Linked DNA regions of Homo sapiens: all the other regions are linked to region 2. The links are contacts of gene promoters, found by promoter capture Hi-C in blood cells and fetal thymus (Javierre and others, 2016). All regions are on one chromosome and are shown on one strand. Each heading gives the region's core, a stretch centred on a gene start or on the middle of the fragment in contact. The rest is flanking DNA. Distances are from core to core; before and after follow the strand shown.

Region 1 (2,741 bases), core at 234-2,733, 2.6 Mb before region 2:
GAGGTACTCGGTGATGTCACTGGTTTGCAGCCCAACGCTGACAGCTGCATACAAGGAGTAGGCAGTTAGTTTGTACTCATGCACATGGGTTGGTCGGCACACTGGCTCTGCAATAGCCACCAAGAAGTCTTGGGCATATTTGTAAACTGGAGAGAAGGCTTCCAAGAAGATATGGCCATCGGGAGCCTGAGAGATACCAAATGGACAAAACAGACAAGGAAACATGAGTTGCAGAGACTACTGGGCTCTTGCCCATATCATTATCAAGAAAGAATAAGCTGCCCAACACCACAGATATTCTTGCAAGCACTCCTTCAGACAACTGTGGGGCCTGTTACATTAATCAGATACAGAAGAGTAAAGAAAAATAGAAGAAAGTGTTTCCAAAGTCAACAGCTGTTTCCTACTATTCTGCACAGAGAAAGCCCATCTTACTGGCTATCCTCAAGTTACCTTTTGGCTAGATTTCAACTAAATGTATAACATTAATTATTTAAAGTAGAGCAAAAGCTTGCTACCGAACATGTCTTCCATTATTTGAGGAAACAAACTGTTACATGATAAATGCTATTTATTCGGCAGATAAAAGGATTCACTACATGGGGTAGGGCTGGGGAAGGAGTGAGAGTAAACCGAGGGGTTAGAGCTGTTGGAAGCCCAGGTCCGGCCGCCACACGTGTGCGCAACTGCTCGCTGTTGCCTTGGGCTGTTCCAACGTGTGTGGATGAAAATTCTCTCCCGGCCAGTTCTAGGGGCAGTATCCTGAATGTCAGTTTTGACTCTGAGGATGCCCAAGATTTAGCTGCCGCTCCGCACACTCCTGGGCCCTGCCCAAGCTAAGGGCATGCTTACCACCCAGAGGGGCCTGGAGGTGTGGTCGTCCTTCAGCGGCATTTGCAGCCTGTAGTCCTTGGCTCCATATTCATCCACTTTGGTGCCTGACTCATCCACCTGCTTCCCCGCCGCCGAGGGAACCGCTTCCTGAGGGTCGTTCCCCGGGGCGTCCTCTTCATCATCCTCTTCATCCTCATAGTGCCGCTTCCTGGATTTCTTCTTGTCTGCAAGATACCAACACAGAAGTAAGCCCAGCAGGAGCCTTCAGGGTTCCCTCCGCACCGCTTGGCAGCATTTCACCTGCGCCGCCGCAAACTCCTAGCTAAGAGCCACCTGCATCCCGCAGGCGTTGCGCCCCTCACCCGTCTCCCCTAGGCCGAGTTCGCTGGGCTGCGCCCAGGTCCAGCATCTCTCCCGCCCAAAGGCCTGTCCCAACGGGGTGCGCGCGGGAGGGCCAGCAGGGTCGGCCGGCGCAGAGGCCCGGAGCAGCTCCGAGGCAGAGCGGGGGGCAGGGCCGGCAAGGGCAGTCGTGGCTGAGCGTGCCCGCGCAACGTCTCACCGCGGTCCGCTCGGTCTCTTTTGCCCATGGCAGCTACAGCAGCAGAGAGAAGATGACCCCGCTCCCACAGGCCCGCCGCGGCATCCGCTCTGGGGGGACTTCCGGCTCAATCCGGAAGCTCCCTGTTGTCCACACAGGATGTCCCGCCTCTAGGCGCCGTGATGTGGGTGGCTGGAAGAGCGGAGAGCCAGCGACCGCCGATCTGTTAGCTCGTGCGACCCAGCGGCGGGGGTCCTCCACTGTTCATTTCTCTACAACTGAAGGAAAATACTGTGTGTTGAGCACCTGTGTAGTGCGCGAATTAAAGGCCTCATCCTTCTGGAACTTAAATTTTAATGAAGCCATGTGGGCAATAAATGTGTGTGTGAGAGAGAGAGAGAGAGAATGTGACCTGAGTCCATGGGTAAGGAAGAATTCTTTTTTTTAATTAAAAAAAATTTGGCTGAGCACGGTGGCTCACGCCTGTAATTCCAGCACTTTGGGAGGCTGAGGTGGGTGGATCACTTGAGGTCAGGAGTTCGAGGCCAGCCTGGCCAACATGGTGAAACCCCATCTCTGCGAAAAATACAAAAAAAAGTAGCCAGGCATGGTGGCACACGCCTGTAGTCTAAGCTACTTGGGAGGCTGAGATGGGAGAATCTCTTGAACCCAGAAGGTAAAGGCTGCACTGAGCTGAGATTGCACCACTGCACTACAGCCTGGGCGACAGGCCGAGAGTTCGTCTCAAAAAAAATTTTTTTCTTTTTTTTTTTTTTTTTTTTGAGACGGAGTCTCGCCCTGTCGCCCAGGCTGGAATGCAGTGGCGCGATTTCAGCTCACTGCAAGCTCCGCCTCCCGGGTTCATGCCATTCTCATGTCTCAGCCTAAATAAAGCAGATTACCCTCAATAATGCGGGTGGGCCTCATCCAAATCAGTTGAAGGCCTTAAGAGCAAAGACAGGTTTCTCAAGGAAAAAGGAATTCTGCCTCCAGACTGCAACACAGAAAGTTCTGACTGAGTTTCCAGCCTTTGGACTCAAAACTACAACATCAACTCGTACCTGAATTCCCAACTTGCCAACCCCCACAATTGCATGAGCCAATTCTTTAAAATCAATCAATCAATCTCGCTTGCTCAGTGGGCCTCTTGGTTCTGTTTCTCTGGAGAACGTAACACAGATTTTTGGTACGGGGAATAGGGTACTGCTGTAACAAATACCTAACAATGGGGAAGTGGTTTTCAAATTGGGTAATCGGTAGAGGCTGAAAGAATTTTGAGGCGCATGATAGAAAAGCCTCTATTGTCTTGAAGAGCCTTGGTAGAAGTATGGGCATTAAAGGTGATTCTGGTGACGGCTCAGATGGAAAG
Region 2 (3,004 bases), core at 42-2,541:
TAAATGACTTGAGTGGCAACTACAAAACAGCTAATGAAGCTCCCCACATCCTCCCACCAGGGCCTCCACAGAGCTGGTATGAACTACAGAAAGGGGCAGTTACTTTCCCCATGACGCTGTCATTCCCATTCGTATTGCAAAGCCTCTATTTTTTAATTTGTCCCACAGCATGACAGACCCCAAACGCACATTTACTACTGGTATAGATACACATATTAAGACCAGTGGTGACTGTTACAGCTCACATAAAAGCTGAGTTCCATTGCTTGGGCTGACTTTATGTGTGGGGGGAATGCAAGCCTCTAGAATCCCATGAGAACTGACTTCTATATTGGGTGCTTTTCTGTCTCCTCCTGTGTCTCTCACATAAGACCCATCAATGAATGCTATTAAGTTAACATGGGAATAAGACTATATGATGAATCAGATGGAGGCCATGCATCTTCATTGAGGGCTGCGAGGTGGTTGTGCTGCTGTCCAGTCAGGATCTGGCAACAGAGTCACTGGGCTCAAAGTTCACACCTTCCTAGAATCCCACTAGGGTCAGCCAGTAACGCTTACAGAGCACTGACAAGTGCTGTGTCATAGGAACTTCAAAAAGCAGCAGCAACAGGCCAGGTGTGGTGGCTCACACCTGTAATCCCAGCACTTTGGGAGGCCAAGGTGGGTGGATCACTTGAGGTCAGGAGTTCAAGACCAGCCTGACCAACGTGGTGAAACCCTGTCTCTACTACAAATACAAAAATTAGCCGGGCATGATGGTGCACACCTGTAATCCTAGCTTGGGAGGCTAAGGCAGAAGAATCGCTTGAACCCGGGAGGTGGAGGTTGCAGTAAGCGCCATTGTACTCCAGCCTGGGCAACAGTTAGACTCTGTCTCAAAAAAAAAAACAAAAAAACACACACACAAAAAAACAAAAAAAAACACACAAAAAAAAACAAAAACAAAAAAAACAAAGCAGCAGCAACAGCACAAGGCCCAAACAATTACATCCCCGAGCCAAGGCCTGCACCTTCCCAAGCAGAGACCCAATGTTGGAATGACTTCTAAACAGCCTGGCATCCCTGGAGCAACAGAATCCAGTGGTACATGAAAGCCAACCAAAGGCTAGTGTTTGAGGAAGCATACCCATCACTAACAGCACCCTTGCTCTCCTTACAGAAAAGGGAGAAGAGATGACCAGCTAGGAACTGACTCCAAGTACAGGCAGGAAAACAATGGCTACTTAAGGATCTGAAGGCTTTTTTAGCTTCTCCTAGCTATTGCAAAAATGCACCTAGCGATGCTTCATGTAGCACCACCATGAGTGGCTTGCCTCTCAGAAGAGACAGGGACCCGTTGCCTGCGATGCACACCAACCTCAAAAGGGTGGAGCTATTTCTTCGCAGTGACAGAGCTGTTGCTACATGGAGCTATTGCTTCATTTGTAAAAGAGGTGGCTTTGGGGACAGAACTATTTCCCATCCATCAGCCAATAACAAATATTCCAAATACTTGACCTCGGTCTAACGATGTTGGAAATTATCTAAAGGAGCTTTATGCCCTTTAGAAGCTAGAATTTTCGTAAAGCTAATATATCTTGTTTTTGTTTTGGGGACAGGGTCTCACTCTGTCACCCATACTAGAGTGCAGTGGTGCGAGCTCGGCTCACTGTAACCTCCACCTCCCAGGCTCAAGTGATCCTCCCACCTCAGCCTCTCAAGTAACTGGGACTACAGGCACCCACCACCAGGCCTGGCTCATTTTTATAAGTTTTTGTAGAGATAGGGTTTCACCATGTTGCCCAAGCTGGTCTCGAACTCTAAGCTCAAGCAATCTGCCCACCTCAGCCTCCCAAAGTGCTGGTTTTGCAGGCATGAGTCACCATGTCTGGCCTAATATATCTTGTTAGCACATGAGGTGTTACCTATCAATAAATCATCCATATATATCCATATATGGACTCCTGAGGTGGGGGAAGTTTCTTTAAGTTCTTTTGTAAATGCCTAGAGATTATAGTTGGCAAATCTCTGAATCCCTGGGGGATGCATTGCCACCAATATGGAAAGCCTTCATAGGTAAACACAAAGAGATACCTTGGTTCCTCTGCTGAAGGTATAGAAAAGAAAGCTCAACATAAGTCTATTACTAAAATTAGTTAGGTCACACAATAGGAGGCTAAGAGGTTGAGTACTACAACTGTCAGACATACCAAAAATATATTTCTATCAGATTTTGTAAAAATATGTAAGCAAGCTAAACTTCTTTGTCAGTTTCCCTTCCTTTTTCATAGGTAATATAGGAAGACTATTACAAGGCAAATGTCCTTTCTTTATGATTCTCTTTCTAGTTCTCTAATTACAGGTTCAATTCCCCGTATTTGAGCTAGGGAGAGGATATAGCTTTACACATGACCATAATTTTTCTTTGGTGTAAGCTACGACAGTAGGGTCAATCAAATGATAGACTTAATGAGTCAATGTGTTTAAGAAAGACTTCAGCAAACAAGGCCTCTTGTCTGACCGAAGATGGCTACACATCCTCCAATTTGCCCAGTGGAAAGGCTCACTCAAGGTGTCCCATCCTTGTCACCAAACTTGTGGGGGCAGAAAGGAAACCAACACCCAAAGGAACATGCCAATTCAAAAAATAGAGAATGATTAGATAATTCTATTATTTAGAAAAAACCTGAATGCATTCAGGTAGTCAGCAAGTGTCTACACAGCTATGGTAGATTTTTAGCTCTATTGTTATGGAATTAAAGCTACAGTTACTATCCCTCATTCCGTTTTTAGTAAACAGCCAGAAGCTATTCAATTTGCATCAGTAGTTACGTTGAGTTTACCCTGATGGCCTGATTTTTATAATTCTTTATCAGGCTTACCCTGATGTTCTGCTATTATCATTCGTTACCACTACCTCCTGTAACCGCCCAAAAGTGTCCCCACACACACGAGGGCATGTTCAGTTTCCCACACTCCACCTCAACAACTGGCACCAGAATCGGCCCAGTTGCTCAAGCCA
Region 3 (2,999 bases), core at 230-2,729, 2.3 Mb before region 2:
TTCAGCCTCCTGAGTAACTGGGACTACAGGTGTATGCCACCACACTCGGCTAATTTTTGCATTTTTTTGTAGAGACGAAGTAGGGGGGTGGGGTAGGGGCGTAGGGGGGTGGGGTACGGGCATGGGGGGTGGGGGTGGTGTTGGTCTCACTATGTTGCCCAGGCTGGTCTCGAACTCCTGGGCTCAAGCCATCGGCCGCCTACGCCTCCCAAAGTGCTGGGATTACAGGCATAATCCACCGCACCTGGCTTAGGAAAGTGTTTTTAAGCAGTGCATGCCTGGAAAACGCTTTGCAGTCATTAGAATTCACTGTCCTACGTAAGGAAAAGCAATGAACTCAAAACAGTAAAGGGCTTAACGCTTAAACAATTATTTAAGCACTCAAGTTTTCTTTTTAATTTTCAATTTTTGTGGGTACATAGAGGGTGTATTTATTTATGGTGTATTTAAGAACTTTTGTAACAGAACGCCCCAACAGGACTAGCACACAAAGGGAAAGCAAATGCGACGTGTTTCCCACACCAGGTTCTGCCTCACTTATCCTTAATCTCAGGTGCCAAGCACCGTGCCAGCAGAGTGGGCCCCAGTAACAGCTTACAGAATAAACAAACAGTAAAGAAAGGAGACCAAACTTCGGTGAGGAGGAAGAGGAACGATCTCAAGGTGGAGGAAAGGCACAAAAACCACCAGTAAGTGCCAGAAGCGCATTCCTTACTCTATGCATGCAACTGAAACATGGGTCCTGCACTTACGTCCGGTGTTGCAAGCAAGATTAAACCACTCCTAACTAGCAGTGAAAAGTCTAGGAAGGATCCCCCGCCCCAACGCCCCTTGGATTCTCCAACTACTCAACTACTGAAAACTCTCTTAACAGAAGACACCTCTCCTTCCCTGCACACAATAGGAGCTTAACATATGAAAGTGACTTCCCAATTTCAGCAAAAACCTTCGCCGATTCAGAAGAAAGCTTTCCCACCAGAATCCCCTCTCCAACGTTCTAGCTTCGACGCTTGCAGCTGGTCAGAGGGCTCTTGCCCTCCTCGGGCCGGGTCGCGGGAGGGAAGGTTTCGGGGGGCCTCCTTGCCCCCACCCGCGGGGTGCCAGGCCAAGCCCCGCCGAGTAACTGCTCCGCCTCCCAGCCCGGTCCCCCAGGTCCCTGCCCCACCTGACTGGTCGCCGCTGTAATATTCCGAGTCCATGGCAGGCGGACTCTCAGCGGGGAGTGTCCGCGCCCCGCGCCGCCCCCGTCACCTCCTTCCAGGCGGTGTGACCCCGGATGGCGCGGCTAAGTGTTCAGAGACTGCCGCCCGACCGGAGAACTTAACGGGTGCGGAGGGTAAGAAAGCGGTAGCGGCAAAGGCGAATTCTTTGACCTGGAAGCCCCGGCGGAAAAGGCCGTACCCGGCAGGCTGGCGGGCGGGCAGGCATGCGAGCCGGCGTTCTACTTCCTAGAAGCACCGCTGGGGCCAAAATGGCGTCTGCCCACGACCCTCAAAGGAATGCAGCGCGCAGGCGCCGCAACCCGTCAACCGGCCAATGAGAAGACGCAACAGCAATGACGCCAGGCACGGCCGGAAAGGAGACTCCTGGGAAAATTGAGCTGGAACTCGGGCTTTAGTTAAATACCTTCCTCGGGTGGATCCTGGTCTGACCCCCGTGGTAATAACGTTATCATTGATTCTTTATCATTTCCTAGATTCTGTGTCCGTGCCTTGTTTGAAGAGCTTTTGAGATACTCTTCCGAAAAATGAAGACCTGCTCAAATGACTTTTCCGTCATTCAGCCAAACCACTGTCTTTCCCGTCAGGCCCAGAGGCGCCTGGTTCCCGCCCGCAGTAGGCAAGAAAGCGGGCGTTGCTCACTGGGACTTGTAGTATGACGCCCGCGAGCTGTGATGCGTTACTAACTGGCGCGATCCACAGCGCCTCCTCTCCCGGCGTCTTCCTCTCTTTCATTCTAAACAACGATTTAATTTCCTTGTTAAGAAGCCATTTAGCCAACAGTAAGAAGTACACGTCTTTGCTTCCAGAAGGGTTCCCCTGATGAAACACCGGAGGAAGGTGAAGTTGAACTTTACCTGAGCCCTGTGTTCCTGGAAAACAGCGGTGATTAAGAAACCCCCTCATCTATTTGTGTTTCTGGAACGGCACACTGTAAAGAACCACCCGTCTCCATGTGACTCAGATAAAACGCGTGCAGATGACCCCCTTGTTTGCCTGTGACAAGGCCAGAGACCTTTCCCCTTTATTCTGAGCCTGTTAATAAAGCCAAACAGACCTTCCAAATTCCCGCTGATGATATCGAGTGATTAGTTGAGATTAGAACTCTCCTCCCCCCAACTTGTTAGACACAGAGAACATTTCCTGTTCACCTGACTGAAACTTCTCCTGATTGCAAAACAATCCCAACTGTCAATCATCCCACCTTCCTCCCTATAAAAGTCAAAACTACGCTGCCAAGACACTGATCATATCTGGAGTGCTCTCCCTATTGCAATAGGCTGAGTAAAATCCATTTCCTTACTTGTTCATTTTAGTCTTGGACAGAGAGGGGAACATTCTTGCCTTTGGATCGGAGGAGGGCCAGTAGAGGTTTAAGCAAAGACTCCCCAGGAGGTGTAGACATGTAGAAAAAGAGCCTTTTGTTACTACTGCAGATATCTGACCCTTCGTTAGCCAGTCAGAGTATGCTGGCAGAGCCCAATTATAGGCTCCTGAAGAGGACGTGGGAAGAGAAGAAAGGGGAGAAGTGGTTTCTCTCTGGAAATTCCCATTTTCCTGCAAGAGAGTTCATGGATATTCCTTTCCGAAGTGGTGGAAACAGCATTGAATCCAAATTCCTTCTTTTCAGCTGTGGGAATGACATCTTCTCAGGCAGTCTTGAGAATCAAAAGAACAAAGAATTAGCAATGCCCGAAACCGAATCACTTGATAGAAGATATCAAGGCTCTAAGCCCTCTTCTAAAGAGAAGGTGAGAGTACACCTGTGTAAATGGAGCA

What was found. Contacts are between HindIII fragments. The CHiCAGO score rates a contact against its expected background, and 5 or more counts as called.
Region 1: the fragment with the promoter of ERCC3 here is called in contact with a fragment that was not itself captured in region 2 in 1 of 17 cell types (fetal thymus); the score reaches 8.1 in fetal thymus.
Region 3: a contact is called between the fragment with the promoter of IWS1 here and a fragment that was not itself captured in region 2, in 1 of 17 cell types (fetal thymus). The highest score is 5.6, in fetal thymus.

What each region holds. Positions count from the first base shown.
Region 1 is chr2:127,292,661-127,295,401 of GRCh38, forward strand. ERCC3 (ERCC excision repair 3, TFIIH core complex helicase subunit) reads right to left here and starts at 1,484. Exons shown (of 15, transcript NM_000122.2): 1 at 1,394-1,484; 2 at 853-1,058; 3 at 1-186. The coding sequence starts at 1,421. The HindIII fragment of the contact is 2,323 bases long and covers 509-2,741 here.
Region 2 is chr2:129,873,782-129,876,785 of GRCh38, forward strand. The region is part of intron 1 of LINC02572 (long intergenic non-protein coding RNA 2572); the gene reads right to left. Among named protein-coding and RNA genes, the nearest start is that of LINC02572, 2.2 kb to the right of the region's middle. The HindIII fragment of the contact is 4,386 bases long and covers 1-3,004 here.
Region 3 is chr2:127,525,010-127,528,008 of GRCh38, forward strand. It overlaps IWS1 (interacts with SUPT6H, CTD assembly factor 1), which reads right to left and starts at 1,480. Exons shown (of 14, transcript NM_017969.3): 1 at 1,166-1,480. The coding sequence starts at 1,199. RefSeq lists enhancers at 690-1,389, 720-799, 810-869, 1,400-1,459, 1,720-1,769 and 1 more and silencers at 1,050-1,159, 1,801-1,974. The HindIII fragment of the contact is 4,097 bases long and covers 966-2,999 here.